Regions from separate parts of the Homo sapiens genome. Here all the other regions are linked to region 1. Evidence: promoter capture Hi-C in human tissues and cell types (Jung and others, 2019). All regions are on one chromosome and are shown on one strand. The core of a region is centred on a gene start or on the middle of the fragment in contact, and the rest is flanking DNA. Distances in the headings are between cores, read along the strand shown.

Evidence for each region. Contacts are between HindIII fragments. The study calls those that stand out against the background at their distance.
Region 2: a fragment that was not itself captured here is called in contact with the fragment with the promoter of DCT in region 1 in 2 of the 25 tissues and cell types used here (dorsolateral prefrontal cortex and lymphoblastoid cells).
Region 3: a contact is called between a fragment that was not itself captured here and the fragment with the promoter of DCT in region 1, in 2 of the 25 tissues and cell types used here (mesenchymal stem cells and spleen).
Region 4: a fragment that was not itself captured here is called in contact with the fragment with the promoter of DCT in region 1 in 5 of the 25 tissues and cell types used here (dorsolateral prefrontal cortex, lymphoblastoid cells, mesenchymal stem cells and 2 more).

The regions. Positions count from the first base shown.
Region 1 is chr13:94,475,108-94,482,703 of GRCh38, forward strand. It overlaps DCT (dopachrome tautomerase), which reads right to left and starts at 4,575. Exons shown (of 8, transcript NM_001922.5): 1 at 3,854-4,575. The coding sequence starts at 4,148. The HindIII fragment of the contact is 3,749 bases long and covers 3,648-7,396 here.
Region 2 is chr13:94,657,498-94,665,093 of GRCh38, forward strand. No RefSeq gene overlaps it. Among named protein-coding and RNA genes, the nearest start is that of LINC00391, 47 kb to the right of the region's middle. RefSeq lists enhancers at 3,271-3,772, 4,101-5,690. The HindIII fragment of the contact is 4,944 bases long and covers 1,574-6,517 here.
Region 3 is chr13:94,636,380-94,643,975 of GRCh38, forward strand. No RefSeq gene overlaps it. Among named protein-coding and RNA genes, the nearest start is that of GPR180, 38 kb to the left of the region's middle. The HindIII fragment of the contact is 7,470 bases long and covers 1-5,774 here.
Region 4 is chr13:94,613,054-94,620,649 of GRCh38, forward strand. GPR180 (G protein-coupled receptor 180) reads left to right here. Exons shown (of 9, transcript NM_180989.6): 4 at 6,097-6,277; 5 at 6,415-6,464. Among named protein-coding and RNA genes, the nearest start is that of GPR180, 15 kb to the left of the region's middle. The HindIII fragment of the contact is 4,111 bases long and covers 891-5,001 here.

The sequences.
Region 1 (7,596 bases), core at 3,325-5,824:
GCTACCCTAGGAAGGCTAGCAACTTACTCTTTGGGGAATAATTAATTGAAGGACATGTGTCCTGCTTTGGGACACACGGCTCATCACAGAATGGTAATTATGACATACACAAAATAACTTCCCAGCTCAGTCACTAAGGACTTAGTCTCGTGCCCTGAGATTCAAAGAAAAAGACCATCTAGCAAGATAAGTAGAGCCATCCAAAGTTGGTATGACAATACAATGGAATATTATTCAGCCTTTAAAAAGAAAAAAATTCTACCATTTGCGACAGCATGGATGGACCTGGAAGACATTTGTGCTAAGTGAAATAAGTCAGTCTCAGAAGGACAAACTCTGCATGATTATTCTTATATGAGGCATCTAAAGTAGCTGAACATAGAGAAGTACACGACGGAATTGTGGTTACCAGGGGATGGGGGAGGGGCGATAGGGAGTTGTAAAGTTATAATGATACAAGATGAGCAAGTTCCAGAGATTTTCTGTACAATATAGTGCCTATAGTTAACAATAAGGCATTCGGCACTTAAAAATGTGTTAAGAGGGCAGATCTCATGTTAACTGTTCTTACCACAAAAGCAAAAAATAAACAAAAACAAAGAACCACGAGGAACCTTTGGAGATGATGAATATGTTCATTATCTTGATTGTGGAAATGGCAACACAACTGTATAGGTATGTCCAAACACCATATTGTGCACGTTAATTATGTGCAGTGTTCTGTGTAACAATTATGCCTCAATAAAACTGGGAAACATTAAAAGTCTAGTAAATTGAACTTATAGATACAGTAAATCTTAAGTTACCTTTAAAAAAATGTAGGTGTGGAAAGAGTTCTGTTCCTGATGAGTTTGGACTGAGCAGATCACGGGGGGAGGTGAGCCACAGCCTGGAGATGGGGCCTCAGGGCCAGGCCGGGCCTTGACAATGGCTGGAGAGGCAGACCATCTCCCTGGAGGAAGCCCTGCTTCTTTGGACTGGCTTATGTACATGGGACTTCCTTACAGCCTGGACTTAAAGAACAGGCCCTATTTATTTCTGGCCCAAGGGCTTTTTAGAGCAGGGGGAGCCTCTTTTTTTTTTTTTTTTTTTTTTTTTTTGAAGGTAGGTCTCCATGATCCTAAGTTCCTATTACTTCTAGAGCAATATTTATAAACATTTCCTTACCAAAGGGAAATAGCAATGATCCCTTCTATTCTTTCTATCCCTACCTAAAACAAAACAAAACTTGCTAGCCATGGCAAAAATATGAAGAAGCTGGTAACAAAAAGAGTTTATGGTTATATGTGACTTCCTAAAGTCCTCTGCCTCAGGATTCTATGCAATGCAGATTTACAACTTTTTGAAAGTGTTGGCACTTTCTTTTTTTTTTTTTTTTTTTTCTGAGACACAGTCTCACTCTATTGTTGCCCAGGCTGCGTGCAGTGGCGCGATTTCAGCTCACTGCAACCTCCACCTCCTGGGTTCAAGTGATTCTCCTGTCTCAGCCTCCCAAGTAGCTGGGATTACAGGTGCCCATCACCACACCTCGCTAATTTTTGTATTTTTAGTAGAGACAGGGTTTCACCATGTTGGCTAGGCTGGTGTTGAACTCCTGACCCGTCTTGGCCTCCCAAAGTGCTTGGCTCCCAAAGGCGTGAGCCACTGCGCTTGGCCAGCACTTTTTCATTGATTGACATAGAAATAATTGTTCTAGAAGTATTTTGGGGTTTTGAACAAAGAAGTTACTGTGTTAGTGTGGTTTTCAATCACGCTAACCACACCAGCAACCTGCTCCTCATTCGTCTAAAACACCATGATAATTTTGAGAGAAGGTCTATAGAAGCAAATGCTTAAAAAACTTAGAAAAGCTGGATAATATATATCCAATATGTTATTGAAATTTTTGTCATGATTAATACCCAGGGCAAAACCAGGACCTAGATATTCTTCTGAATGACAGAATTAAAAATATTACTACAAAATGATTATAAAGCCAGAACTATTTATTTATTTATTTATTTTTTTGAGACAGATCTCACTCTGTCACCCAGGCTGGAGTGCAGTGGTGTGATTTCTGCTCACTGCAACCTCTGCCTCCTGGGTTCAAGAGATTCTCCTGTCTCAGCCCCCAGAGTAGCTGGGATTACAGGTGCCTGCCACCACACCCAGATAATTTTTGTATTTTTAGTAGAGACAAGGTTTCACCATGTTGGCCAGGCTGGTCTCAAACTCCTGACCTCAAAGTGACCCACCCACTTCAGCCTTCCAAAGTGCTGGGATTACAGGCGTGAGCCACTGCACCAGGCCTAAAGCCAGAACTCTTAATGTGAAAAAAGAAATCTAATGTCTGGGCACTCATGGACATAAAGATGGCAACAATAGGCACTGGGGACTGCTAGAGAGGGGAGGGAGGGAGGGGTCAAAGGTTGAAAAACTACCCACTGGGTGCTTCGCACACTACCTGGGTGACAGGATCAATCATATCTCAAACCCTAGCACTGTGCAATATATCTATGTCACAAACCTGCACTTGTATCCCCAGGATCTAAAATAAAGTTGAAAGTTAAAATTAAAAAAAAAAATCGAATGTCATTCCTACACCAACATCACAGGCCTTTGTATGTTCCCTTAGTAATACCTATTCAACCCCTTATGAAGCTCAATGACCTATATCCTCCTATGTTCCAGCATCCTATGAGAAGAGAAGTAAAAAGTATTTTTAAAAGGAAAAAGTCTTCTGCAACCACCCAGCCTACAACAGTGTCCAAGGGCTTTCCTGAGGTTGCCACTTGTGTTTTTTGTATTTCAGTGGCCCCCTGCCAGGCTTTGAGTGTTTATTCCCGAAGGGCATATGGCTGCTGGAAACTGGAGGTGGGAAAGATTGAAGAGGATTTGAAAAAGCCCCAAAGAGCTAGAGGAATGAGAAATGCACAGAGATGTCAAAGCAACAGGTAATGAGAGAGACCAGAGTCTAAAGGAAGGACACTGAGCAAATTTTGTGATGTCCGGTTCAAGTCCAGAGAAGAGTGACAAAAAGCCATTGTTATCTAATAACAACCCCCCGCCCGCCCCCCCCACCCCCAGCTCCTCGAGAAAGCTCTGTCTTGCCACGTCTCGACAATTTTGTCAAAGTTACAACCTGGTCATAAGCTTTAATGAGAAACATGCACCCTGCTGAGGTCAGGAGTTCGGGACCAGCTTGGCCAACATGGTGAAACCCCGTCTCGAAATACAAAAATTAGCCAGGCATGATGGCGGGTGCCTGTAATCCCAGCTACTTGGGAGGCTGAGGCAGGAGAATCACTTGAACCCGGGAGATGGAGGTTGCAGTGAGCTGAGATAGCACCATTGCACTCCAGCCACGGTGACAAAGCGAGACTCCATCTCCAAAAAAAAGAGAGAGAGAGAGATCTGTTCAAATCATGAGAAATGCTGAGACCAGAACACCTGCCTTTGACTCCTGTCTTCCGAATGCCAAGCTTCACCCATCCCTTTTCAACAAGTGCAAACCCATTTCAGGAGAGGGCACCGAATCCATCTTGAAAGGACTTGCTCCGAGTTTCAAAGCTGACGCTTTTAAGCTCTTAAATTCCCCTTCCAACAAACAAGCCAATAGTATGTTGGCATGCATTCATATAAGCAGGCTTGGCCCACGCCATATTTATTTAGTCTTCATAACTAGATGTACTAGAGGGTGTGAAGAATAAACCAGCACATCAGCCTTATTGAATATGCTTCCGACCAAAACCATCATTGGTTTGCCTTTCAAAGCCTAATCTAAGAGTCTCTGTCAAGAGTCTCATCTCTTCCTTAGAAGGAGCTCTTTCCCCAGCTCTGGCCCTCCCCACCAAGCTTGGAGCATGGGCCTCACCTGTGCACTTGCAGGTCCGGTGGAAGAATTTTCTTGGCCACAGCTCACGGTCATCCTGGTTTCGTAGGATGTAGGGACCACTCCAGGGCCTTGTGTCGGCTCGCACCTCTGTGCACTGCCCCCGGCCTTGCTGAGAGCCACAGACATTGGCCGACTCTGCACCCAGGCGTGGGCAGCACTCCTTGTTCACTAGGCTGTCCACCGTCATGCAGACTCGGGGGAACTGACCCTGGGCTCCTGGCAGGATTTTGCAGCCCAAGCAACTGAGCAGAAACCCCCACCAAAGGGGGCTCATGGCTTTATAATTGGGAGAGCTCTCTCTCTCTCTTACTTTCCTTGTCTCTGTCGTACTTTTCTCCTTATCTTCTACTCTTTCAGTCTTTTCTTTTCAGTATTTTTTATTTTTCTTTGCTTTCTATTCCTTTCTTCTTAAAAAAATACCCACAAGAATCACAGAGGTTACATGTGTGCACATGTGTACATGAACGTGCACACACAATTTTATGTGATTCAAACAACTAACAGACTTAATTTCCTTAGAAGCGCCTCTAACAACCAAATTTAATGAGGGTAGCGCTTCTCACCATCTTCCCCCGTTAAGTCAGGCTTTGTCTAATTGAGTTAATTTACAGAGCACCCAGTCATACTACTTATTATGCTGGTATTTCTAAACCCTCTCCCTCCCTCCTTAGCTCTTGACTTTAATTGCCTTGAACTCAGTTCAAAAGCCAAACACCGTGCTGCTTTTATTCTCTCTGGCTTGCCAAGCCACGGGGCCTTGGGGGCTTGTGTAAGGGCTGGGAGAAGCCTTCATTAGGGGGATTAGTATTACAGAAACCCTCATCATTAGCACATGACCCAAAGTGCACAATAAAGGAGATCACTTCTGGCTTTATTTCAGGAGGGCAAAACCATCTTCTTTATCTGGGCTCATGTGCTCCAGCCAAACTTGTGACCTCAGACATCCTGGGGAGTCAGTAGATGCAGTGAGCTCTTCGTCAAAGACCCTTTACACAGAAGCTCACATTGCCAACTACAATGCACTCATGGCTGCTTTCTGACATGTGTGCAAAAAAGACCACAACAGGGGGTCATGCAACTTCAAAAATAAAGAAACATTTATGTAGAACCAGGGTACAAGGAATTGCTTTGTTCCACAATTGGGAATCCTCTTCCCTCCAAATAATAACTTACTCTTCTCCTATTCAGCACATCTACGCAGCAATTTTTTTTTAATTACATGAAGTAGCATGCCACCAGAAACTCACAATTGTCATTATCTGATTGTATGGAAGGCACTGGAACCATTTGGAATGAAGGCTTGCAAGCAAATCTTTTTGATTAGACTAAAGTGAAGCATGACTGAGCTTCAGTCTAGAAAGCAATGCCTCCTGGTGCTTCTGGAGAATGGTCAGGTCAGCAATGGTGGCCACCTGTCAGAACATCCATTTATTTTTTCACAGTGGAAACAGGACTGTCTTGGTAACTGTTTCACAGTGGAAACAGGACTTAGTGCCACAAGGATGCGAAACGGCTTCAGCTAGTTTCTAAGAATATACTTGAATGTAAAGACACATATTGTTATGTTTCAAAGCAAATTCCTAAGGTGAAACAATTATATAGGTATTCCCACCCCCTGTACCTCTGTGCCACCCCTTGATGTTAAGTTGTTGTGACTAATTAAATGGCAATTCTTATGTCTGACTCTACACCAATATCAGCCTGTACCACAGCCCTACTGAATCAGAATCTCTGAGGATGTTCCAGACACCAACCAACCTTTGTTAGAAAACATCTAGGCAATTCTAATGCTCAGCCAGAGTTGAGAATCACTGAATCAGAATACAGCAGAGCTCCAAAGGAAATATTGCATCAGCATCAGCTAAAAGAGACCATGTGCAATAGTTTCCTGAGGCTTCTGTAACAAATGACCACAAACTGGATGACTGAAAACAACAGAAATCTATTTTCTCACTGTTCTGAAGGCCAGAAGTCTAAAATGAAGGTGTTGGCAGGACTGGCGTGTGTCAGCCAGGCGGCTGCACTCTCCCTGGAGACTCTAGGCTAGAATCCTCCTTGCCTTTTCAAGCTTCTGGCAGCTGCTGTCAATCCTTGGCTTGAAACCGCAGCTCCAATGTCTGCCACAGCCCCATGGCCTTCTCCCCATCTGTCTGTGTTTTTCCTCCATGTCTGTTTCTTATAAGGACACTTATTGGATGTAGAGCCCACTCAGATAATCCAGGATGATCTCATCTCAAGATTCTTCACTCAATTACATCTGCAAAGAAGACTCTTTTTTCCAGACAAAGTCACATTCACAGGTTCTGAGACATGGACATATCTTTTGGGGAAGTCACCATTCAACCTAACACATCATGGGTGGGAAGAAACTTGGGGTTCTAAAATCGCAAAATCTCAGGGGTTTTTGAAACCTTTATTTTGGAGCTCATTCATTCATTCCATGTATATTTATTGACTGCCACTTCATGCCAGCATTGTGACACTTGGGAATTTTATTCCAGGTTTTTGTGAAGCCTTGGGGCTCCATAAATGTTAAGATAAAATTTCTTGGATGTTAAAACTGATGGAGTCAATAATTCTTATGTCAGAATGCCCCAGGTCGAAGTCCTAGGATCTCTTTTCTTTCATTTCCACACTTGCTAGATAACTCAGCTAGTCTGAGGCCTTAAATGCAGGCTATCATGACTTTCCAAAATTACAACTCTGACTTTGACCTCAGTTGTGAGCCCCAGACTCATATTATCTAACTTCCTACTGGACCTCTCTACTTGAAGGTTTAGATATTTCTCACCCAAGTTGAGAACTTTTGCTCTCTCCTCCCAAATGTGTTCTCCATTGGTCTTCTCCATCTCCACAAAGAGCAGCATCACCACAACCCTACAAGTGATCTTTGAGTCTTCTCTTTCCCACCTCCCCATGTGTGCTTTCCAATGCACTTCAAGTAAAATCCGAGGTGCTTTGCATGTGCTACTCAAAGTGTGGCCAACAGATCCGTGAATGGTGTGTTCCTGGTTTACATCAAGTTAAGAACAATAAGAATAGAAATTGAGAGTCAACACTGGGAAATTTTCATAGCAATTTGACATTGGGATAACATTCAGGCATACGATCAGTAGTTTCATTCAAGAGGGGAGAGTCCGGCTGTGAGGTTGCCAAACGTGCATGGTGATGATCACGGAGCACAGGCTGAATGCAATGAGTCATGTGCAGTTGGATCACGTGTTAGTCTGTGGCTGGAACATTTTTCTTTTTTAATCATTTACCATGGATAGTTTGAGAACTAGCTTAAAAGATCCTCCATGATTTTTCCCTCGCCTGCCTCTCAATCTCTTCTTCTGGATGGCAGACTATTGCAATCACTATTATTCAAACATGCCCCCATTCATTTCCACCTTGGCCTTTGTCTTGCCATTCCCTCTGTCTGGAATAATCTTGCTCAGAGCCCTCAGCTTCTCAGAGAGGCCTTCCATGATATTTTAACACGTCTACAGCCAGCCACCTTCTCTCTACCACATTACCTTATTTTATTTTCTTCATAGCACTTATCACCATCTAAAGTTATCTGACTTATTGGTTAGGTGGCTGAAAGACTGTCTCATCTACTGGACTATAAGCTCCTTAACTCTGCTGTGTTTTTCCAACATGTGCAACAGTATTTGGCAAATAGAGACTACTTGATAAATAGTTGATGAATAAATATTCCCAATTCAAAACTGTATGTT
Region 2 (7,596 bases), core at 2,796-5,295, 180 kb after region 1:
GCCACTGGGTCACAGACGACACATATATTCAACCTTACGAGGTAATCCCCAACTATTTTCTACAGTGGTTCTACCAAATTATACCCCAACCATCAATTTATAGAAATTTTTGTTTCTTTTTAAGTATTCGTCATTTTTTTCTGTAAAGAAATGGAAGTGGCCTAGAATGACAAAGATACTTTATATAGGTGCTTTTTAGAATTCGTTTTTAAGGACTTCTTCAGGATGATCTCATTCCTACTCACACATGTGAGTGCACCATTTGTTTGCTGTGCAATACTACTTACATATCTATTACGTATCTATTTATATTGTTATTTAGTTTTTCAGGCGTTTGTCTTTTCCTCTCCAACTAGATCAAAAGCTACGTGAGGGCCAGGAGGCAGGTATGGCCATTTTTGCCTACCCAGCATCTGTTCCCTTCTTTTGGAAGCAGCATCTCAATTTCCCTCTAGAGAATCACCTCTAACCACTCTCTCAATCCATAGTCTCAATGAGGTTCACTCCCCTCCCCATCCCCAAAGTTGCATGTCTATTCTAAGCACAGGTCAGCAGGGACACATGACTTAGGTTGTGCCTAAGGTCAGCCCAGTGAGACTCAATTTTGCAACTTTTGTTGGAAATTTTGGGAAAGTTTTGTTTTGATTTTTTATTCTGTGGCTTCTGAACCAATAGGATGCTTAGAGGTGCTGAAGGTCATCATGCAACTGCATGAAGTAGACCTGCCTGAGGGTGAATTCAATGCAGAAGAAAGAAGCACCAAATGGGGGAAGAGACTGATTTCTGGATCCAGCTGTGCCGGGAGCCAGTGAAAGCCTCTGGCTTTTCAGTTACATAAACCAATGAGAAAGTCTCTCTGTTCTCACTCCAAGTCCTGACTTATGTATAATTTATTCAAAAAGTTTATTTGTTTGTTTGTTTGGTTGGTTGTTTTTCAAGATGAAGTCTCGCTCTATTGCCCAGGCTGGAGTGCAGTGGTGTGATCTGGGCTCACTGCAACCTCCACCTCCCAGGTTCAAGCGATTCTCCTGCCTCAGCCTCCCAAGTAGCTGGGATTACAGGTGCCTGCCACCAGGCCCTGCTAATTTTTGTATTTTTTTTTTAGTGGGGATGGGGTTTCACCTTGTTGGCCAGGCATGTCTCAAACTCTTGGGCTCGAGCAATCTTCCCACCTCAGCCTCCCAAAACGCTGGAATAACAGGTATAAACCACTGCATGTGGCCTCAAAAAGTATTTATTACCCGCCCATGCTAGGGTTAAAGATACAGCAATGAACATGTTCTATGAATGTTTGTTTTGATTTCTATTTGAATGATCTTGCTATTGTGAAATTATAGGTTTAGCCTCTAATAATTTTTAAAATAGACACTTATAAGTAAACCATTTTCAAGCTTCCTCAAGAAGCAGTTGGTAAACATGTTTGTTCAATATGTTAAAATATTAAACCAATGCTCTTATATTCTGGTACTCAGTACTCTTACAGAATATAAATAAGAAATAGTCCCTACTTTAGAATGGCTTATGATATCATCTAATGGGAAAGATAGCACAATTGGAGGGAGGAAAACCCTCAGGCTCCTAAAACTGATAACAGACACAAGTGCAATACATAGTTCAGAGAGAGAGAGAGAGAGAGAGAATGAACAGGCATGTGTGTATATCCTAAGAACATTCTGAACTGAGTAGATGTCCACACCTAGGTGAAATAATAAAGGAGAAAGCCTGGAGTGGATCTTGATTTTGTGGGAAGTGAAGCTTATACAATTTATATAAGGGTCCTCCTTAAGAAAACAAATGCAAAGTTAGGCATAAGGTCTTAGCTGGTGCAAGCAAGGCCCTGAAGCTTAAGATTTGTTAGCTTCAGGGTTGATCTGCCTACGCAGGAGAGGTCTGAGTATGTGCAAAATCCCAAGTGGTGGTTCAAGGAAGTACAAACAGGTTTAACTAACTAGGGTGGGAAAGGAAAGCTAGCAGATAGAGGAAATGACAATTACATTACTAACTGATTGATTGAAAAGGCTGGTCATTTTAGGGATCCTAAAAGCTAAGGAGATTAAGTTTCATGATTATGTAATTGGGAACTAGAGCAGATTTCTAAGAAGGAAAGTTGCATGGTTAGGGAAAAATTTCTTGCCACTGGGTTTAAGATTAATTAATCCATAAATAAAAGTAGGTACTAGGGCTCCTAGAGATATTTGTAGCAAGAAATGATGATTTTGTGGACCAGGATGGAGATTGCAGAAACTGAAAGGAAGGAAATGAAGTCATATCCAAGTGATTTTGAAGGAAATAGTCTAAATATGTGGAAGAAAACAGGACTGAAAGGTCTGGAAGTTTTCAAGGCTGAAGTGCAGAGGTTGGCAATGGATTCATTTTGATGTTACTTTTTTCTAACATAAGCTTCTTGCAGGTCAGGATTTAGGGCTTTAGGATTATTTTGCACTATTTTTTGTAGATGCACATTTAGTACATATCTAATATTCTTTAATATTCCAGTAATGTAAGAAATCTTGATAGTGTTTCCATGTGAGCTATTAAGGGGGAAAACTGTATAGCCCCTTCCATGATGAATGGAAGTGCTAGATTCCAAAACTACATACTCCAGAAGAGGAATGTGACTGGCAACGTGGTCAAAGGAAAAGAAGTTAGCCTTCGGGTTTGGAAATCTCTCCCTGTCTCCATGTTCTGAGCTTAAAATATTCAGATGGCTTCAGCTCAGTTACAGCCTCCCTTGGGTGTCCACAGGGGCCTTGAAGGAAGCAGAAGAGAGTTCATCTCACCTGTAAACACTGAAGTAAATGGATGGCCCACCCTTTGTATGCAGAGTGAAGAAAAAGGATTAAACACTGGCGTGGCAATGATGACCAGGCATTTTCTTGGAGGTTACACTTGAAAAACATATAGGGTTTTTCAATCATTTAAAGATAATTCTATCCCAAAGGATTGAAATAATCCAGTTTGGGCCAAACCTACCTGAAAACAAGACATAGAACATTTCTATGATTTACTCATTTTCCCTTCAGAAACTCAAATCTACCACCAGCAATATTGAAAAGATAGAGTGCATTACACCCTGCTATTCACTGATTTCAGCAATGGAAGTGTGAACGTGGGAAACCTGAGTTTATTCATCAGTTTTAAGAAAACCCTCAAGATATAAAGCTGGCTCTGTGGGAATCTTTAGTCTGATTGCTCTAAGAGCAATAGCCACTGTCTAGGAGCAAAAAAGGAGGAATTTAGTGGAAGCTCAGTTCAATTCTAAATGATCTGACTTTGGTTTTATCTGCAGTTTCTTTGCTATGAACCTATAAACAAACCAATAGGGCAGTTTTGGAAAGGAGAGTATTCACAAATCATAGTAACAAGAGTCAGGCCACTAGGGGGGATCGTTAAGCCATTTTGTGCAAAAAGAATGACTTAACTTTTGAAAATGACTGCAGTTTCATTATTTTAAGTCGTCATTAGTCAACTTTAAGCAGGCACAGCACACCAGAACTGGAATTCAATCTTTGTAAGCAAACTCATATCTCCACCTAAAGCGATCAAATGCCTGTAAACATCCCTTTCTTGTTTTAATTGCGAAAGGATTATTGTGGGCTTTGAAGTAATAGCTGTTCCCACTACCTGCTTCCAGAAGCAGCTGTTCCCACAGCATCACAGCAGGTGCAGCCCAGAAGCTGGGCCCTGCCCTTATCATGTAGCGGGTGGTATATTTGCAGAGTCCAATGTGTGTTCAGTCCTGAATTAGCCAACTTTGTTATCTAAATTCTCCTAAACCCAAAGCCTAACAAGAAAATAGCAAAGAGTAATTCCCCCATAATAATCGCAGAGGGATGGGGATCAGGGAGGATGTGAGAGGCCGGACTAAATGAAGCATTTTTTTTTTTTTTCAGACAAAGAGGCAAAACTCTAGATTTAAAAAAAAATGAGAGGGGGGCTGAAATGCACATGTGGAGATTGTTTAAACAAAACTCCAGTGTTTTTAGAATTGCTTCTCCAGCGGATCAGATATCTTGCTTGCCCTACGTTAATAATCATTTTCAAATCAGTAGCTAGAAGTCGGCTCCCTCAGCAGTTCCAAGGCTCCGTGTCAGTGCAGAGGCTGTGTGTGGGAAGCAGCAGAAGGCAGCCTGTTTGGAAAAAGGAGAGCAGGAACTGGGGGCACATCTCAGAAACTCATGATTGTTTCAGTCATTAAACACTGATATTTAATTTGAGCTTTGTAATCCAGGACACTATTATTTGGTCCCAAGCAAAAAGCGGGGGAAAAAGAAAATGAAATGAGTATAATAAAAGAGCAAGGAGGAACCAGCTGCTTTGGGCAAAGAAGGGCAATAAAAGGAATCTTTATAACTGCCGAATGGTGGAATAGGCTTTTTTCTCCCCGCCAAGCAGAATGTCAAATTCTGTCCCCCTTTTTTCCCCTCTTAAAGCGTGCTAAAAGGAAAATTCTTCACAGAATCTTAAAGAACTTTTTTGACACAACAGCTGCAAAATCTATTTTCTAAACAAAGATTTATACATATTTATATGAGCTTAATCCAGATTTTTTTAAATAAATCATCCTCAGAACTGCAGAGGTAAACTATATGTAAATACCTCAAGTAATAGGCTTGTAGTGCAAATCACATCATTTTATCTTCAATTTTGCATTCGTTTTTCTGGCTTAAAGGTGCATCAGAGATATGCATTTTAGCATATTCAGAACACGGGGCGTGAAATTAAATGTTTGACAGAGTGAGAAAAATATACAGACTTTGGAGATGCCTTAAAAATAGTAATTTATGCAGATCTAGAGGAGTGAAATCATTTGCAATGGAGTGACCCTCTCTCCAGGAATTTTGTGCTCAGTGTTCTTCCCTAATCTCCCGCTGTATCTTCATTTTTCATTGAACTAGCCAGTTTTCTGCGAAGCCGTCTTGTAGATAAGGGGAGTGCTAAAGAAGAAGAAAGAGGACGCTCGGTGAGGCCGTTTCCATTGCACTTTTACCCAAGGCAATGGGCAGAATTTAACGGATTCCTTCCAACATATGTTTTTGCCAGATAAGTAAACAGTGTGTGTCGGAAATGAAAAAGCATTTGCAATTTAATGACATTACAGCTCTCAGCTTAGGCTGGCGTGCTGCGAGGCGAAAAGCAGAAAAAGAGAGGAGAGTAGAAAGAGAAAAAGAACAAAGTTCATCTTCCCTTTTGTGCATTTTTATCAAAAAAAATATTACTTCTTTCCCCCTCTTGTTCTCTTTTTCTTTTTCGTCTTTTGGTTTTTTTGTCTCACTCATTTACATTTTTTTTTCTTTCCTGCCTTTCTGTCCTCTGTTCACTTTTACCTTTTTCTTATATTGCCACTGACTCATTTCTTTTTTTCTCTCCATTGTGTCTCCTTATTAATCTATTTTGGCCATTCAGTTTTACCTTATAAGAAGCTGTTTATCCCACAATGTATCTTTTTTTCTGTGTTGTACTCCTATTGCTATAGCTCATAGTCAACAGGATTGTCAAAGGGATTATAACGTTTCATTTGAAAGCTCTACAAATCTGCTCTCTTGCCTTCGGTACCTTCCCCCATTTCCTCTGATACTTGTCATTTTATTTCACGTTCATCGTGGTCTTTAGTTTCACCCCAGACATCACAGTACCCTGATGTCTAACCACTGATACTCACTGTCTTTGCATTGTATGTTGGCACTACAAGGTTCTAGAAACTTAACCTTGAAATGGCAGAACCATTCTCTTCCACCCTTAGTCAAGTTCAGACTGGTATGGACAGTAAACATACCAATGGGTCAGAATTGGTCCTTCCAGTGGCTCATGGTCAGGACAGGGTGTCATATAGTTGATACTTATAATGGGTCATCTTCCAATAGAAATTGAGCCCCCAAAACTGCTGCTGAGTTTGCTGTTACTTTTCCTGTTAAATATGGTGAGAGAGTGATTACTGATACTACAATCTGTATATATGAGTTTTATGATGGTTTGCTTGAGTATACGTGTGTGTTTGTACATGTGTATGAATTAGACTACGTGACAGTGTGCATAGTTGTGTGGAGTTATTTAAGGCAGTGTAGGTCTGTGAATACAGGCATATAGAAAGAAATGATTATCTTTCAGCTTTGATTCTACCCTAAATTCCAGAAGTAAAAGTTGAATGGAAAACCAATATTTTCTCCCCACTCAGGTCCATAACATGTTTATTTTAGGATTATTTTGACTGCTACTTTTACAGGCAGGAATAAGATTTTCCACCAGGTCTCCCTTTTGTGACAGACTAGTTAGATGACCAGGCAACCCCATTCAGAAGCAAGGAATGCCTCTCAGTCATTTTTGCTGCCTTGAGTTGTCACTCTCTCAATCTAAGCAGTTCCTGAACAAACAACTTTTAACATGATTCATCATTGCCTTTTTATTTTTGCAAAACAAGTTGACATATTTTCAATGTTGTTATCATGACCATTTGAATATTAGTACCCAGATTGTTAACGCAAATTTCATTCTAAGTATACAATTGTAAGTTACATGTCAGATCCCAAGGTTAACCTGCAGGTTGAGCATAATTGAAAGGACCATAATCAAATTGCAAGTCCTATCACAGAAGTACTGTACAGACTTTAAAAAGATGCTTAAATAAAATGCTCTTGTCTAAAGACATGTGCATGTTTTCACCGTAAAATTACATCTTCCACATCTTGCAGATCCGGCACTTGGTAAGTAAAAAGAAAATCTATTTGGACATGAGGATGTAAAGTAGCTGGAGGTGGTAATTTAATCAACCAAGGATATATTTCAATGTTTTTCTGGTCTTCTAGGCATTAGCACTTTAAATTCATTATGTCGGTTTGACAGATATATGCAGCCTTAAGGATCTAAAAATGAAATCCTAGAAGTATAGCCTGCTAGAGGATATATATTGAACTTAAGAGATTAAAATGGTATAACCATTGCAACAGAATGGAACATATCGTGTTTCTCATTTTTTTCCCACTAAGCATGAGTATTTTGCAGATGTAAAATACGGTCTTCTCTAATTATAAAACCTGGCTGAAGAGCCAGAGCTTTCTAACTTTTATTACTGATGAAGTGGATATTAGAAAGAAAATGTTGGCTTCATATGGAGTCTGAAGATGAAGAAGTCTTCCATTTGGGATTTTCTATATCAATAATTTATTAAGGAAAATAGTACAAGTGGTTACATGCAGCCTACTGTAAGAGGCAAGTACATTGCATGCTTCTCCTGTTTAAGGCAAATAACAAAAGAGCCAAATTATAAAGCAGGTCTTAACGTAACTGGGACGTTAAATCTACTATATCATTATGCCAATTTAGTAACGTTAATGATCTGTAATATTAATTCATCATCCTGGAAAATGGGGAAAGGTTGCCATAATTAACTATATTAAGCCACAATTAAAAAGTCATCCAAGCTGTTGTAAAGATTCTAGTGATGATAAGCGTGTTTGTTATATTATAAACCTTTCTGACCATGTAAATTTGGTCCATAAGACTTTGTTACAAACAGCCCCTCACTTCGAATTCAGATAAGTCAAAAGAGCAGCCACCCACGGAGGCAGTGGCACCGACTAGACGCCTTATCAGCCATTT
Region 3 (7,596 bases), core at 790-3,289, 160 kb after region 1:
ACGTGGGAATTATGGGAGCTACAATTCAAGATGAGATTTTGGTGGGGACACAGCCAAATCATATCACACCTCATACAAATATTAAAAGGAATCATAGATCTAAATGTAAAACATAAAACTAGAAAACTTTTAGAACACAGGAGAAAATCTTTATGATGAGGTTATGCAAAGAATTCTTAGACACCTAAAACATAATCCACAGAAGATAAAAAATGGCAAATTTGATTTCAAAATGAAAAACTTTTGTTCTGCAAAAGACACTGTCAAGAGAATGAATAGACAGGCAATAGTCTGGGAGAATATTTGTAAATATGATAAAGTTTAATAAAGGATTCCATATAAAGAATGTATTAAAAACTCTTAAAACTCTACAGTGAGAAAGCAACCCAATTAAAAAATGAGCCAAAATCTTGAACAGACATTTCACCAAAGAATAAATATACAGCTAGCAAATTAACACATGAGAAGATGTTCACTATAATTAGTCATTAGGGAAATGCAAATTAAAAGGTTGGAGAGATACTACTACACATCTATTAAAATAGCTAAAATAAAAATACTGAAATTACCAAGTCCTGGAAAGGATGTGGAGCAGCTGGAACTCTCCTACATTGCTTGTGGGAATGCAAAATAGGAGAGCCATTCTGAAAAACAGTTTTGCAGTTTCTTATAAAGTTAAATTACCATATGACCCAGCAATTCCACTCCTTGGTATTAACCCTAGAGAAATGAATGGCTCATACAAAAACCTGTGCATACTGTTTATAGCAGCTCCATTCATAATTATAAAAAACAACGACCCAGATGTCCTGAATTGATAAAGTATGATGTATCCCTACAAAGGAATATTATTAGTAATAAAAGGAAACTTGATTCACACAACTTGTATGAGAATCAAAGGCCTTATGTTGGATGAAAGAAGCTAGTCTTAAAAAGTTACATGTTATTGTATGATTCAACTTAGATGGCATTCTCATATAGACAAAGCTACAGTAATGGGGAAAACATCAGTGGTTGCCAGGAATTACAGGTAAGGACAGGGTATGATTACAAAGGGGTAACACCAAGGAGTTTTGAGGGAGGTGATGGAACTCTTCTTTATCTTGACTGTGTAGTGGTTATCTCAGTCTAGATGTATGTTAAAATTCAAAGAATTGTATATTAAAGAAGTCAATTTTACTGTATCATGATTTTTTTAATTGTACTTTAAGTTCTAGGGTACATGTGCACAGTGTGCGGGTTTGTTACATATGTGTACATGTGCCATGTTGGTGTGCTGCACCCATTAACTCGTCATTTACATTAGATATATCTCCTAATGCTATCCCTCTCCCCTCCCCCTACCTCACGACAGGTCTCGGTGTGTGATGTTCCCCTTTCTGTGTCCAAGTGTTCTCATTGTTCAATTTCCACCTATGAGTGAGAACATGCGGTGTTTGGTTTTCTGTCCTTGAGGCAGTTTGCTGAGAATGATGGTTTCCAGCTTCATCCATGTCCCTATGAAGGACACAAACTCATCCTTTTTTATGGCTGCATAGTATTCCATGGTGTATATGTGCCACATTTTCTTAATCCAATCTATCATTGATGGACATTTGGGTTGGTTCCAAGTCTTTGCTATTGTGAATAGTGCTGTAATAAACATGTGTGCATGTGTCTTTATATCAGCATGATTTATAATCCTTTGGGCATATACCCAGTAATGGGATGGCTGGGTCAAATGGTATTTCTAGTTCTAGATCCTTGAGGATTCGCCACACTGTCTTCCACAATGGTTGAACTAGTTTACAGTCCCACCAACGGTGTAAAAGTGTTCCTATTTCTCCACATCCTCTCCAGCACCTGTTGTTTCCTGACTTTTTAATGATCACCATTCTAAATGGTGTGAGATGGAGTCTCATTGTGGTTTTGGTTTGCATTTCTCTGATGGCCAGTGATGATGAGCATTTTTTCATGTGGCTTTTCGCTGCATAAATGTCCTTTTGAGAAGTGTCTGTTCATATCCTTTGCCCACTTTTTGATGGGGTTGTTTTATTTTTTCTTGTAAATTTGTTTAAGTTCTTTGTAGATTCTGGATATTAGTCCTTTGTCAGATGGTAGATTGCAAAAATGTTCTCCCATTCTATAGGTTGCCTGTTCACTCTGATGGTAGTTTCTTTTGCTCTCAGAAGCTCTTTAGTTTAATTAGATCCCATTTGTCAATTTTGGCTTTTGTTGCCATTGCTTTTGGTGTTTTAGACATGAAGTCCTTGCCCATGCCTATGTCCTGAATGGTATTGCCTAGGTTTTCTTTTAGGGTTTTTATGGTTTTAGGTCTTACATTTAAGTCTTTAATCCATCTTGAATTAATTTTTGTATAAGGTGTAAGGTAGGGATCCAGTTTCAGCTTTCTACATATGGCTAGCCAGTTTTCCCAGCACCATTTATTAAATAGGGAATCCTTTCCCCATTTCTTGTTTTTGTCAGGTTTGTCAAAGATCAGATGGTTGTAGATGTGTGGTATTATTTCTGAGGCCTCTGTTCTGTTCCATTGGTCTATATCTCTGTTTTGGTACCAGTACCATGCTGTTTTGGTTACTGTAGCCTTGTAGTATAGTTTGAAGTCAGGTAGCATGATGCCTCCAGCTTTGTTCTTTTGGCTTAGGATTGTCTTGGCATTGTGGGCTCTTTTTTGGTTCCATATGAACTTTAAAGTAGTTTTTTCCAATTCTGTGAAGAAAGTCATTGGTAGCTTGATGGGGATGGCATTGAATCTATAAATTACCTTGGGCAGTATGGCCATTTTCCCAATATTGATTCTTCCTATCCATGAACATGGAATATTCTTCCATTTGTTTGTGTCCTCTTTTATTTTGTTCAGCAGTGGTTTGTAGTTCTCCTTGAAGAGGTCCTTCACATCCCTTGTAAGTTGGATTCCTAGGTATTTTATTCTCTTTGAAGCAATTGTGAATGGGAGTTCACTCATGATTTTTTTAAATAAAATAAAAAATGAATGTTGTTTAATGCCTTTTCATCATCCAAGAATATGATGATATAATTATTCTCTTTTGTTCTATCAACATGGTGAGCAGCAGTAATAGATTTCCTGATGTAGAACCATCATTCAATACATTTTGGAAAGTTTTATCATCCCAAACTGATGAGATTTTTTTAAAAAAACGGCCAGACACGCTGGCTCTCACCTGTAATCCCAGCACTTTGGGAGGCCGAGGCGGGTGGATCACTTGATGTCAGGGGTTCAAAACCAGCCTGGCCAACATGGTGAAACCCCGTCTCTACTAAAAATACAAAAATTAGCTGGGCATGGTGGCATGTGGCTGTAATTCCAGTTACTGGGGAGGCTGAGGCAGGAAAATCACTCGAACCCAGGAGGCAGAGGTTGCAGTGAGCCGTGATCATGCCACTGCACTCCTGCCTGGGCGGCAGAGCAAGACTCCGTTTCAAAAAAAAAAAAAAAATCCGGATACTTAATATGGTATAATCTCTAGCAGTATGAAGAATGAGAACATTCAGATTCACTCTCGAGTCATATCTGTTTGCTTTGAAAAGTCTATTTAAAATCAGCTCTTTTTTTTTTGTTTTTTTTTTTTTTTTTGAGACAGTCTTGCTCCGTTGCCCAGGCTGGAGTGCAGCGGCACAATCTCAGCTCACTGCAACTTCTGCCTCCCGGTTTCAAGCAATTCTCCTGCTTCAGCCTCCCGAGTAGCTGGGATTATAGGCTCCCGCCACCACGCCCTGCTAATTTTTGTAGTTTTAGTAGAGACGGGGTTTCACCATGTTGGCCAGGCTGGTCTCAAATTCTCGACCTCAAGTGATCCACCCACCTCAGCCTCCCGAAGTGCTGGGATTACAGGCGTGAGCCACCACACCTGGCAAGTTGTACTGTTTGAATTTTTGCTTTATACATCACTTATATTTCAGATTTATTGCCACTAGGTGCTGTAAAATATGGCTGGTTAGGTATAAAAGATGTTGAAACCTTTCACAATTAGAAGGTATTATGATATACTGGAAAAGAGCATGGCCTTTGTGGCAAGACAGACCTGAATTCAAATCTTGGCTGTGCCATTTTTCAACAATTTTCTTATTTGTAATCTGTTTCAGAGCAAACAGTCATTCTTTTAGTACAGGAAAAGGTCCTACAAGATAGAGTGAGAAGTGGCCAGATCTGAGAGATGAGTTCTGATATTAGGAGCTCATGGAATTGTTGTAAAGATTATGTATGGTGCTTGTTCCCACTCAGTGCAATGCTCATTGTTTATAGACCTGAAGGTTTTGTGTAAAATTTTCAGCGAGCCTGATGTTCTTCCTAATCTGTCTGTTCGTGGAGATAATATTTAAATGTGCATGAGATGAAATGTTTGTTTTAAATAATCATACATATGTGGTTAGAACAGAAAGTTAGGTGTGTTTGGGATATGTTCAAGATTCTAATTCACACATGACTGCATTCCAACTTACTCCCACACAAAATAAACTTTTAAATCTCTTGCCTAGCCTGTGAGCCTTATAGATCTTTCAGAAGATTAGTTTTTAAGACTTACTCAGAAGTCAATGTTTGTAAAAGGCTTTTTTTTTTTTTTTTTTTTTTTTTGGCGAGGGGGCCAGGGTAAGTAAGAGACAGATTGTTTCAGTGCAAAGTGGTTTCTTTCTGGGTACACCACAGATTGATCTAACTTATGTTCCTCGTCAAATTAGTAGACTATGTTTTATTTCATTTTGTAAAGACAGCAGCTTTTGTGGAAATAAATGATACCTGGTAGTTGTTAAATTTTAATATTTCCAAACTAACAAGGCTTTTAAATCCCTGTGAATTCTATCTTTGATTGTTCTTCAAAGAATGTAGAGTGGTTCATAGAGTTAACCTGAGAATTCAAGATGGAAAACATTCCTGGCAGAGGAAGGTTGGGTTTTAAACACATAGCAAAAATTACAGATTATGGCTTCTATCTAGATTTTAAGGTCATAGGTCTTTCACCTTTTAAAATATGAATTCCCTTCTAGAGAGCAACATTTCCTGCCAGCTCTTCAGCTTCCAGGAACCCCTCTCTCAGATCCAGCCACTCCTCACTCTATCCAGTGAGAACTCTTCAGTGTGCTAAAAGAATCACTGTTTGCTCCAAACCAGATGTTTCCCTCCAGGGCTCTGCTTTAAGTCGGTAAGGCAATATTTCCTGCCCTTTGTCTTCTCCGTATTTTTCATACTTCTCCTCTTTATCATAATGTTGTTTTAGTTTTTCTGATTCTTGATGATACACCACTGTCAGCTCAAGCTTATGCTGAATTTCAACAGCTGTGACATGTCTAAACTGCATTATCTCGAAAACATTGGCTCTAGTGAAAACTAGAAAGGAGCCAAATTAATAAAACAAAACATTTCAAAGGGTTCCTATGGATACATCCTGAAACTAGGAAGTACATACTGAGTTGAGTTGACTCACTCAGCCTGTAATAGCCTCTTCTACACTGCTGCAGCATTTGTGTACACACTGTATAATACATGCTTCAGGAGAATTGGAGCATCTGATGATTGCAATCACATCACTAAAGGTGCACCTTGTTGCCTATGAAATCCATTCTTAAATGGGTTATTGTGTTTGAAGTGATTTATTACAATCTTTAGAGATAAAATATAAATACCATACTAGGGGTGTGGAAACCAAGGTACAAAATGATATGTTTTATGTAGAGGAGTAATCAGAAAATAATGAGTATGCATTCTAATAAGGGTAAAGTCACTAGAGCAGATTGAAAAGACTTCCTTTTATTGCAAGTTGAACCTGTGCAAAGCTGGACTCAGGCAGTAATAACATGATGCTACGTTCCTTTGCCTCTGGTTTTATGAGATCTTTATGCGTCCAGTGTGACTTTCTTCTTTATATATTCATGTTTTAGTTTTAATATATCTGCCTTGAGTTTGATTTTTTTTTTTTAGGGAGCTTCTGGGCAGGAATGTAAACACTACTGTACAGCCTCTGGGTTATAAGTGGTGGGGGCGGAGGTGGTGGCGGAGGAGGAGTCAGAAAAGGAGGAATAGATTCTGAAGTGAAGATCAGCTTATTTTTTATTTGAAAAGGAAATGCTTTTTATCTCCTTATATATAATGACTTTTTTCTGGGTTATTTGCGTATGCTTGGCCTTTTCTGTTAGTTCTTCATCTTTTTCTTTACACTTGCTAAGAACTGTGCCTACAATGCATATTGAAAATATTTTTCCTGCTTTGTGATTTGCTTTTCAGTTTTTTATATGATTGTTTTGGCATACAGAAATTTAAAGCTTTCATATAATCAAGTATGTGAATATTTTCCTCTGGGGTTCCTGCGTTTGGTTTTCTTCAGTACCCAAGATTCCATCTTCACTGGCATCTGTATACACTAATGCCATGGCTTCAATTGTTACAATCAATCTTTAATCTACTTGGAATTTATTTTTATATAAAACAATAGTTCTTATCCAGGCTATGCATTAGAATCACATGAGAAAAAAAATATTCATGCCTAGATTCCATCCCAGACTAATTTGTCGAGAATCTCTGAGGGTGGGGTGTGGTCACTGTATTGTTTCTGAATTTCTGCAAGTGACTTGAGATGTACAACCAGACTCAAGAACCGCTGTGTAAAGGGTCAGGTAGGGATCCAACATTTTCTTTTTCCAAATTGTTCCAATCCACCCTGCAAAGACATTTTTGAAGAATGCTGATGTACAAATTGCCATGATAAAATAAATGTTAAGTTAAAAAAAAATGAAAACTTCATATATGCCAATACTCTCCAATTCCAACTTTGTGCTACTATATATAGTATTATATAAGAACTGAAAAAATGCAACCAAATCTTGATGATTATCTCAGGGTGGTGGAATTTAGATTTTCTTATTTATCCTTTTCTTCATTTTCCAAATACTCTACAAAGATCATGTTTTACTCTTTGTAATAAGAAAAATTGTAAAAGAATTTTAATATTTAAAAATCAAAGATTATCATCTATTTATTTATTTATTTATTTTGAGATGGAGTTTTGCTCTTGTTGCCCAAGCTGGAGTGCAATGGTGGAATCTCAGCTCACTACAACCTCCGCCTCCCAGGTTCAAGTGATTCTCCTGCCTCAGCCTCCCAAGTAGCTGGTATTATTACACGCATGCACCACCACACCTGGCTAACTTTTTATTTTTAATAGAGACAGGGTTTCACCATGTTGGTCAGGCTGGCCCTGAACTCCTGACCTCAGGTGATCTGCCCACCTCAGCCTCCCAAAGTACTGGGATTACAGGTGTGAGCCACCGCGCCTGGCCTATTTTTATTTTTTTATTTTTTCTTTTCTAGTCATTTTTTTACAAGTGCATAGAAGAGTACTTTGACAGCCCTAGCATCTTCCCTAAGTGCTAGAGTGCAGCAAGGGGATGTGAAACATTTTATCCTAAACATTTGACTATTTTGATCAGATCAGAGTGGCAATTCTTAAAATCTTAGACCTGGGCTGGGTGCAGTGGCTCATGCCTGTAATCCCAGTACTTTGGGAGGCTGAGGCGGGCAGATTACGAGGTTAGGAGTTCGAGACCAGCCTGGCCAATATGGTGGAACTCCATCTCTACTAAAAA
Region 4 (7,596 bases), core at 1,696-4,195, 140 kb after region 1:
CTTCTTATGATCATGATGAACATGCTATGAAGTATAACTGATTTGTAAATTAACATATTGGAGTAAGGATTTGTAGGCCATCTGTCAAAGAAAAGCATTAAGGGTTTACCTCTTCATGAGTTCATTGGCTGTTTGAAAGAGTCAATCTGCTTAAGAGAAAAATTTAATTCCATTGTATCCCATTGGCCATAGAGTGGGGTGGGTGGAGGTGAGGCAGGAGTGAGGCCACATTAGCTTAAACTGATTGTTTAGTTCAAAGTGTAAATTTGTCACAGCTAAAAAAGCAACTTGAGAATTGTGACAGTAGGTCACAAATAATGTTTTAAGGGATAAACTTTTTAAAAATATCCTTTGTTTGGAAAAAACATATATCTAGTGATAGAATGGTGTGCTAATTTTTTTTATTTTTATTTTTTAGAGACGGGGTCTCGCTATGTTGCCCAGGTTGTCTCAAACTACTGGGTTCAAGCAATCCTCCCACCTTGGCCTCCCAAGGTGTTGGGATTACAGGCGTGAGCCGCTGCACTTGGCCCTAAATGTTTTAAAGTGGTTAATTTGAAGTTCTTTCTGTGAAAGAAATGAAATAGTGTAAGCTACTCAAATTGTTTCTGAATGCAGATGAATGTAAAGGTTAAATTTCATTAATGATACTTTCGACTAGTATAGATCATTATTGGAAGTTAATTTAGTCCTTTCATTTCCTTAATCTTTTTAAAGATGCCAACTTTTTTCTGTATTTTGGAAAGGCATTGATGGAACCCAGGTCTACTAAGAGCATTGAATGGATGGTTGGACTAAATTGCTCCTCAGGTCCTTTTTTTTTTTTTTTTAATTTTATTTTTTGAGACAGAGGCTTGCCCTGTCGCCCAGCCTGGAGTGCAATGGTGCAGTCTCGGCCCACCGCAACCTCTGCCTCCCGGGTTCAAGCAATTCTCCCGCCTCAGCCTCCTGAGTAGCTGGGACTACAGGCACCCACCACTACACCTGGCTAATTTTTGTATTTTTAGTAGAGACGAGGTTCCACCATGTTGGCCAGAACTCCTGACCTCAGGTGATCTGCCTGCCTTGGTCTCCCAAAGTGCTGGGATTACAGGCGTGAGCCACCGCACACAGCCTTCAGGTCCTTTTTAACTGTAAGACTTCATTATTTCATATGACCCTTATTTTTAGGACTGGTCAAGGCTCACTAGGAAGTAATGTTCTGCTGCAGTTGTTGCATGTGCAAACCCTGCTGCCTCTAGTGGAGTACAGATCAATTAGCACTTCCTCTCCTGCCTTCCAGGCTGTAGTCCTTTGGCTCAAAAGGTGGTTTTATGTATTGAGTAGATCCATGAGACTTTTCTGGATCCTGATATGCTTTTACTTGCCTCCTTATCCAGGCTTCCATTTTTGGTCTTTTTCTTCATCACCAATTTGGCATGTAAACTTTTATCCCAGGCTATAAAGTGATCACATTTGTGCCCTGTGCCATGCTTGGACCTCTGAATCCCAGTCATACCTTGCCTTGTCCTGAACCTTGCCTATGTCTTCCAGTGTTTTCCTCAACATCTTGAGTTGTGGCTAGCTTTTCTTTATGATGCATACTAACCGTTATGATTCAGTTCTTAGTTTTGTCTCCTTCTGACCTACCTTTTCCTGATTTTTGTGACTGATTTTGATTTTATGCTTACTCTTGTGTCTAAAAGCTGTCTTTCTTATACTACAATGGGGAAGTTACATTGAGTATGTCAGCAACAATGTTTAAACAAGGGGCAAAACCTCACTATAATCGTATGTATTTTCATTAAGCATGACATTCTATGCAAGGCTTACCTTCGGGGATTAATCATTAGAAAGTGCCAGAAGTATCCAAAAGCGTCCAGCCTTGTTATGTGGCTTCCTCTAAACATCACATCATTTTATTGATTAAAATGCTTAAAAGCTTTTGTGAATAACTCTACATTGAAGTATCAATGAGTGGTTCTTAACCCATCACTGTATGCATCTGGTTTAAGGTTATGAGGGTTAAAACAAAAATTCAGATATTCACACCCAGAGACTCAGATAGATTTGGTTTGGAGTGGAAGCCAGTTAAAGCTCTAAAGTTGATTCTTATGTACAGAACCGCTGATCTAAAAGTCCATATTTCACATTGTTTTAGTAATGTGTTTTAAAATACAGCCTTAAGAGGGATTCTTCCTACTTTGTAGCCTCAGGTATGGAATTTGTTTACAGGGAAAATGTTCAATTCATTTTAGAAACTTCTGCTAGTTTGCCTAATTATCTGCTACAAGTAGGAAAAATTGATTTGCTATGCTTTTTACAGAAAATTGACTATTACCACATGTCTCAGAGGTTTGAATTAGAGTAACCTGGTGCAGATAGTTGCAATTAATGTTACAGGTTATTCTGGTTAAATTTCATAATTTGTTTTCTTTCAAACCAATTATGTATTTTATATCTACCAGACTTTGGTTAATCCTCTATTTTACAGAGTTGGTCTAGATTAAACAAAGTCAGGCAAGTGTGATGCCGATTGACAAAGTACTAAATAGGATTATAATATTTTAAGGTACAATGAAATAAAACTGCTTCTTTAAAAGATTAGAATCCTTGTTAACTGTATTTGTACTCTAATTAGAGACCAAGAAGTACCCAGAATCCTGAGAGTGTTATTACCTAAAGGCGCATATAGACTGGTTTTCACTGGAATAATACTACAGGCTCTGCCACATCTGCCATCTCACTGTTTTTAAAATTCTAGCAGCTATGTTCATTCTTTAGTGTTATCCCTTTTTTCCTCCATGTCCCAAAAGACAATGGGTTGGATCTTCCATTTAGCTTCAGTAATGTGTTGCTGGTAACATGTTGGAATGTTTTTGGCTTAAAGTAACAGAAAACCCTAATGCAAGTGGTGTAGACTGTAATGAAATGAATTATCTTACATAACAAGAAGTTTTGCGGCTTCTCCAGGGTGGTTTATTTAGCATCTCTCTACCCTGCTATCCTCAGACTATCAGTGTTGTTCTTAAGCTAGCTGCCTCAAGTTCAAAGTTAGCTGTGGCAGTTCTGAGCATCATGTCTAGATGATTGCAATATTCAGTATCACTTTTTAGGAGGAAGGAAGTCTTTCCCAGAAGCTTCCTATCACATTTCCTTTTTCAGAACTGGGTCATAGCATCATAAGAGAAATGTAAGTTGACATGAAAGAAAGAAGATAAAAGTAGACAAATATGTCAAAAGGGTTAGGTTTACCTCCTACTGGTAAGAGTATGGGAATTTCTGATTGATTTAGACTAATCAGGATATATCTTGAGACACGTGAGTGTGGGAGACCACTGGGGCTCTGAGACAAGGATCATGGGGAGGCGGGAATGTCTGTTCCAGGTGCTGCCCCAGAACCCAAGGACCCTTTCCCCTTAGGCTCTCCTCCTTTCTCATTTACCATCATTTAGCTGGGGCTAAATTTATTGAAGCTGGCCTCTAAGTTTTCTTGCTACTTTATTTTGCCAATGCTGCTTCCTTTAAGCTTGCCTTAAACCTTACACATTTCCTTACAAGTGTTCACCACCTGTTGTATGCTCATTAAGAGTATTTTTCTTCTTCAGTGTATACTTTTTTCATGTGTATTATTAAGTCTTAAGTATAATAAGATTTAACAATTAGTATCCACCTGTTTTAAAATTAGATTTTAATTTCAAAGTGAACAAAGTGAACACAAATTGAGTTTAATTTCAAAGTGAACAAACAATTTTTGCTTGTGGCAAAACAAAAAATTGGTAGCTGAAGAGAGGAAGAAAACAGACTTTTTTAAAGAGATGATTTGTTTAAAAGAACACTGAGTGCAGAGCTAGCATTTTATCTTTTAAGCATTTTATGTACAGTTTTAAGGGAAGAATCATCTAAAATTCAGTGAATAAAGTGTGGGACAGACCCAGTTCAATTTGTTTAATATGTTATGTCAATGAAATAATTTTTGTGTTCGTTATAATGTTAGCTTTTTCTGGAAGATTATTAACTTTGAATAATCCTAAGACATTTTTTGCTGGTGACATATATCTTATTTTCCAGAGTCCCTTCCTTCTATATTATTCTCATTCCTCAGTAAATAACCTGAGGATTTTCTTTTCATGGTAGAGTTGTAACTTCATGGAGTCAGAAACTTTATCCTGTAAGTCAGAAACTTTAAAGATATTCTGTAAAATATTATAAATAAATAAAACTTTAAATTGAATGCCATGTTTAATTTTTTAATACTAAGAAGGAAAGATAAAAACTAAGATTCAAAACACAGGATAGCATAAGGAACTTTACTGACCCACAGTTGTTATAATATATTTAGCATTTTTATTTTCTGTCTTGTTCCGGTACTATAATAATCCCAGGATTATGTTGCCATTATTTCTAAGGCTGGAATGCTTTTCTATGTAAGGTGTTTAAAAAGAAAATATGTTCTTTCTTTTCCCTTCCTGAAGTCTAAACATGCTTTTTCACCTGCACTAGAAAAGTTAACTGTCCACATTTATATTCATAGAGCAGGAGAGACACCCAGTGGCAGAAATACTTTTTGCTGCTTTTTTCCCCCTAACGAGGCCAAAAGCCTGATTGAGCTATTTATTGATTCTTATAATTTGTGTCTTCTGATTGCTTTTACAAAATTATTTTCCACATAATAGAAATATTTTCTTCTCTGACTGTTAATTGGAGTTTACCCGAATGGGAAACTAGAGCAGGCTTGGTGTTCGCTATTGGAATGAAAGTTCATCCATAGACTCAATTAAGACAGCTCTATTCACACCACTGTTAGAGCAGTCTGGTGTTAGATAGAATGTAAAAGCCTTAATATTAGGGACTGTCTTGACATGTAAGCAAGTAAATGTTAGCTGTTAAACTGAAAGCTAGCCTGCTGCTTTATTATAAAAATTTTCTGAAATTTCTGAAAAATGGAGACTCAGTCAAAAGATTGCACGTGAACACAGAAAAAGTGACATAATAAGGTTACATGAAGACTGTACTAAAAAGCTGCTAGTAGGCACTAGAGGCTGCTCTAATGACTGGTTCCATTTTTAATACAAAGTCTGCACATTCTTTGTTCTTTGCCAGCCATCTGTCTTTCCTCACTTGTAATTTCTACTCCCTCAAAACTTTGGTTTTTATCATGGCTCAGTTTGATTCGTCTGGCCTGTCCCAACATCAGCTCCTTTCAACTTCAATTTCTATGGCCTCTTTCCTTTCTGCTTTATAGTTTGATCTACTAAGAGAAGATGATTAGCCTAACTTAGCTTTCAGAATTGTTACGTTGTTGGCCCCTTGCATTGGTAGCCATTTGGTTAGGTGTTAGACAATTTTCAGCCAATCCTGGCATGGAGTCGCATGATCAGCACAGGATTTTTTTTTTTTTTTTTTTTTTTGGCAAGAGCTGCAGACAGTTTATCTCAGAAGATATCTCTGGACATGACAGATATTTTGAAGGTTTGTCCAAATGGAAATTCAAGGTATTGGGACATTCCAGAGCTGTGGTCCTCATGTGTTAGCTATATCAGAATCATGCTTAGGGCTTACTAAAGCACAGATTACTGGGCTCTACTCAGAGTTTCTGATTCAATAGATCAAAAACTGGATGGCACTCAAGAATTTGCGTTTATAACAAATTCCCTGGTGATGCTGCTGGGCAAGAGAACACACTTTGAGATGCATTGTCAGGGCATATTAAACTGTTATTGACTGAGGTAATCTATTTCTAAACTTTTTACAAAAGAAATTCACTTTGGGGGTAAAATGTATATCTAACTGAATGCTGAAATCATTATTTTCATTTACTGTTTTCAAACAAAACTGTGATTTTATGATGAGTCTTTGGGTTCCCCTGACCATTATGCTTTCTTACAGATTGACCTTAACTAGTTTGGTTTAATCTGCTTTCTTGTAGTTAAAATTTTGCCCCAAGGTACAAAATTGTTTAAGTTTTAATAATTTTTTTTCTCTTACAAAGGTGAATGCTATGACTCCAGTTAAAAAACAAGTTCTAGAAATATATTGACAGGGAGATTTGAAAGCAGCCCAATACGATAACTGGCTTTGTTTTACTGAAGCAAACTCCCTTTCTTCTCTTCACAGGGTTACATGAGTTCTTTTTCCTCCTAGTCCTAGTGTACTTTGTGATTGCTTGCATTTATGCTCAATCATTGTGGCAGGCTATTAAGAAAGGCGGACCCATGCACATGATTTTAAAGGTTCTGACAACTGCATTGCTGTTACAAGCTGGTTCAGCTTTAGCTAATTACATTCATTTCTCCAGGTAACTCAAAACCACTAAAACTGTGTTCATCATTACATCTAATTAATCCTAATTAGTCCACCAAAATTATGCTTGCTTTGATTATAAACAATTTTTTTCACATTTGTAATTTACACTACTCTTCTTCAATTCCTCAGTTACTCCAAAGATGGAATAGGGGTACCATTTATGGGAAGTTTGGCAGAATGTGAGTATCTTTCTGAGCATTTTTTAAAAAGCTTTTACACTCGCTATCTGCTTTTTTTTTATTTCTTGTCATAGTATAAATTTTCTGTCGAAAATTGTTTAGAAATCAGCTTGACTGAGAACAGGATTACAGTTTAAGTTCCCATATGTCTTACTTAGTTTCTTCTTAATAATAGGTAATGTGTACAGCTCCTCGTTGTTTTTTTGTTTGTTTGTTTGAGACAGGGTTCTTACTCCGTAGCCCAGGCTGGAGTGCAGTGGCACAGTCACGGCTCACTGCAGCCTCAAACTCCTAGGCTCAGGTGATCCTCCTGCCTCAGGCCTTCCCAGTAGCTGGGATTACAGGCACATACCATCATGCCTGGCTGATTTTTAAATTTCCTTTTCTGTAGATGGGGTCTCACTATGTTGCCCAGGCTGGCCTTATACTCTTGGGCTTGAGGGATCCACCCACCCTGGCCTCCCAAAGTCCTGGAATTACAGGCATGAGTCTCCACACTCTGCCTTTTCATTGTTTTTAGGTATATTTATATACATTCTCTCATCTTATCCTCAATAGAAAAGGGGTCTGCATATCCTTATTTTGCAGATAAAGGATCTGGGCTCAGTGATGTGAAACATACTTCCACATGTCAGTCAGCTATTGAGTGGTAGAGACTAGACTCAGACCTAAATTTTCTTACCTCAAAGCTGAAGTTTTTCTTCCTATTATAATTCCACTCTCTGTTATAACTGACTCTTTTCTATTTCTGACCCAAAGCCTAAAACTCACATCAAAATATGCTGTGAAGAAAAGTGATAAGTTTTCTTAAAAATCATTAAATGCTACCTCATAAAATAAATATATATATGAAACTTGAAGCATTTATAGATTTCTGTTGTTTTCTTGTAGTGTTAACCTGGATACAGGTGGTTTTGATACATCTTTTCTGTTTGAAGTAGCAGGCTTCCCCTGCAGTGTAGGTGATGGCCACCTGGTGGCACATCACACTAATGCATGGAGCTTCTCATTTGTCTTCAGGATTCTGAAAGTAAAGCCAATGTTTGGATGTTATGGGAGCTATGCATTTCATTGTATTGTTTCTTGTTAATAGTTTTAGAAAATACTCTTCACATTATAGTTCAGCCATCAA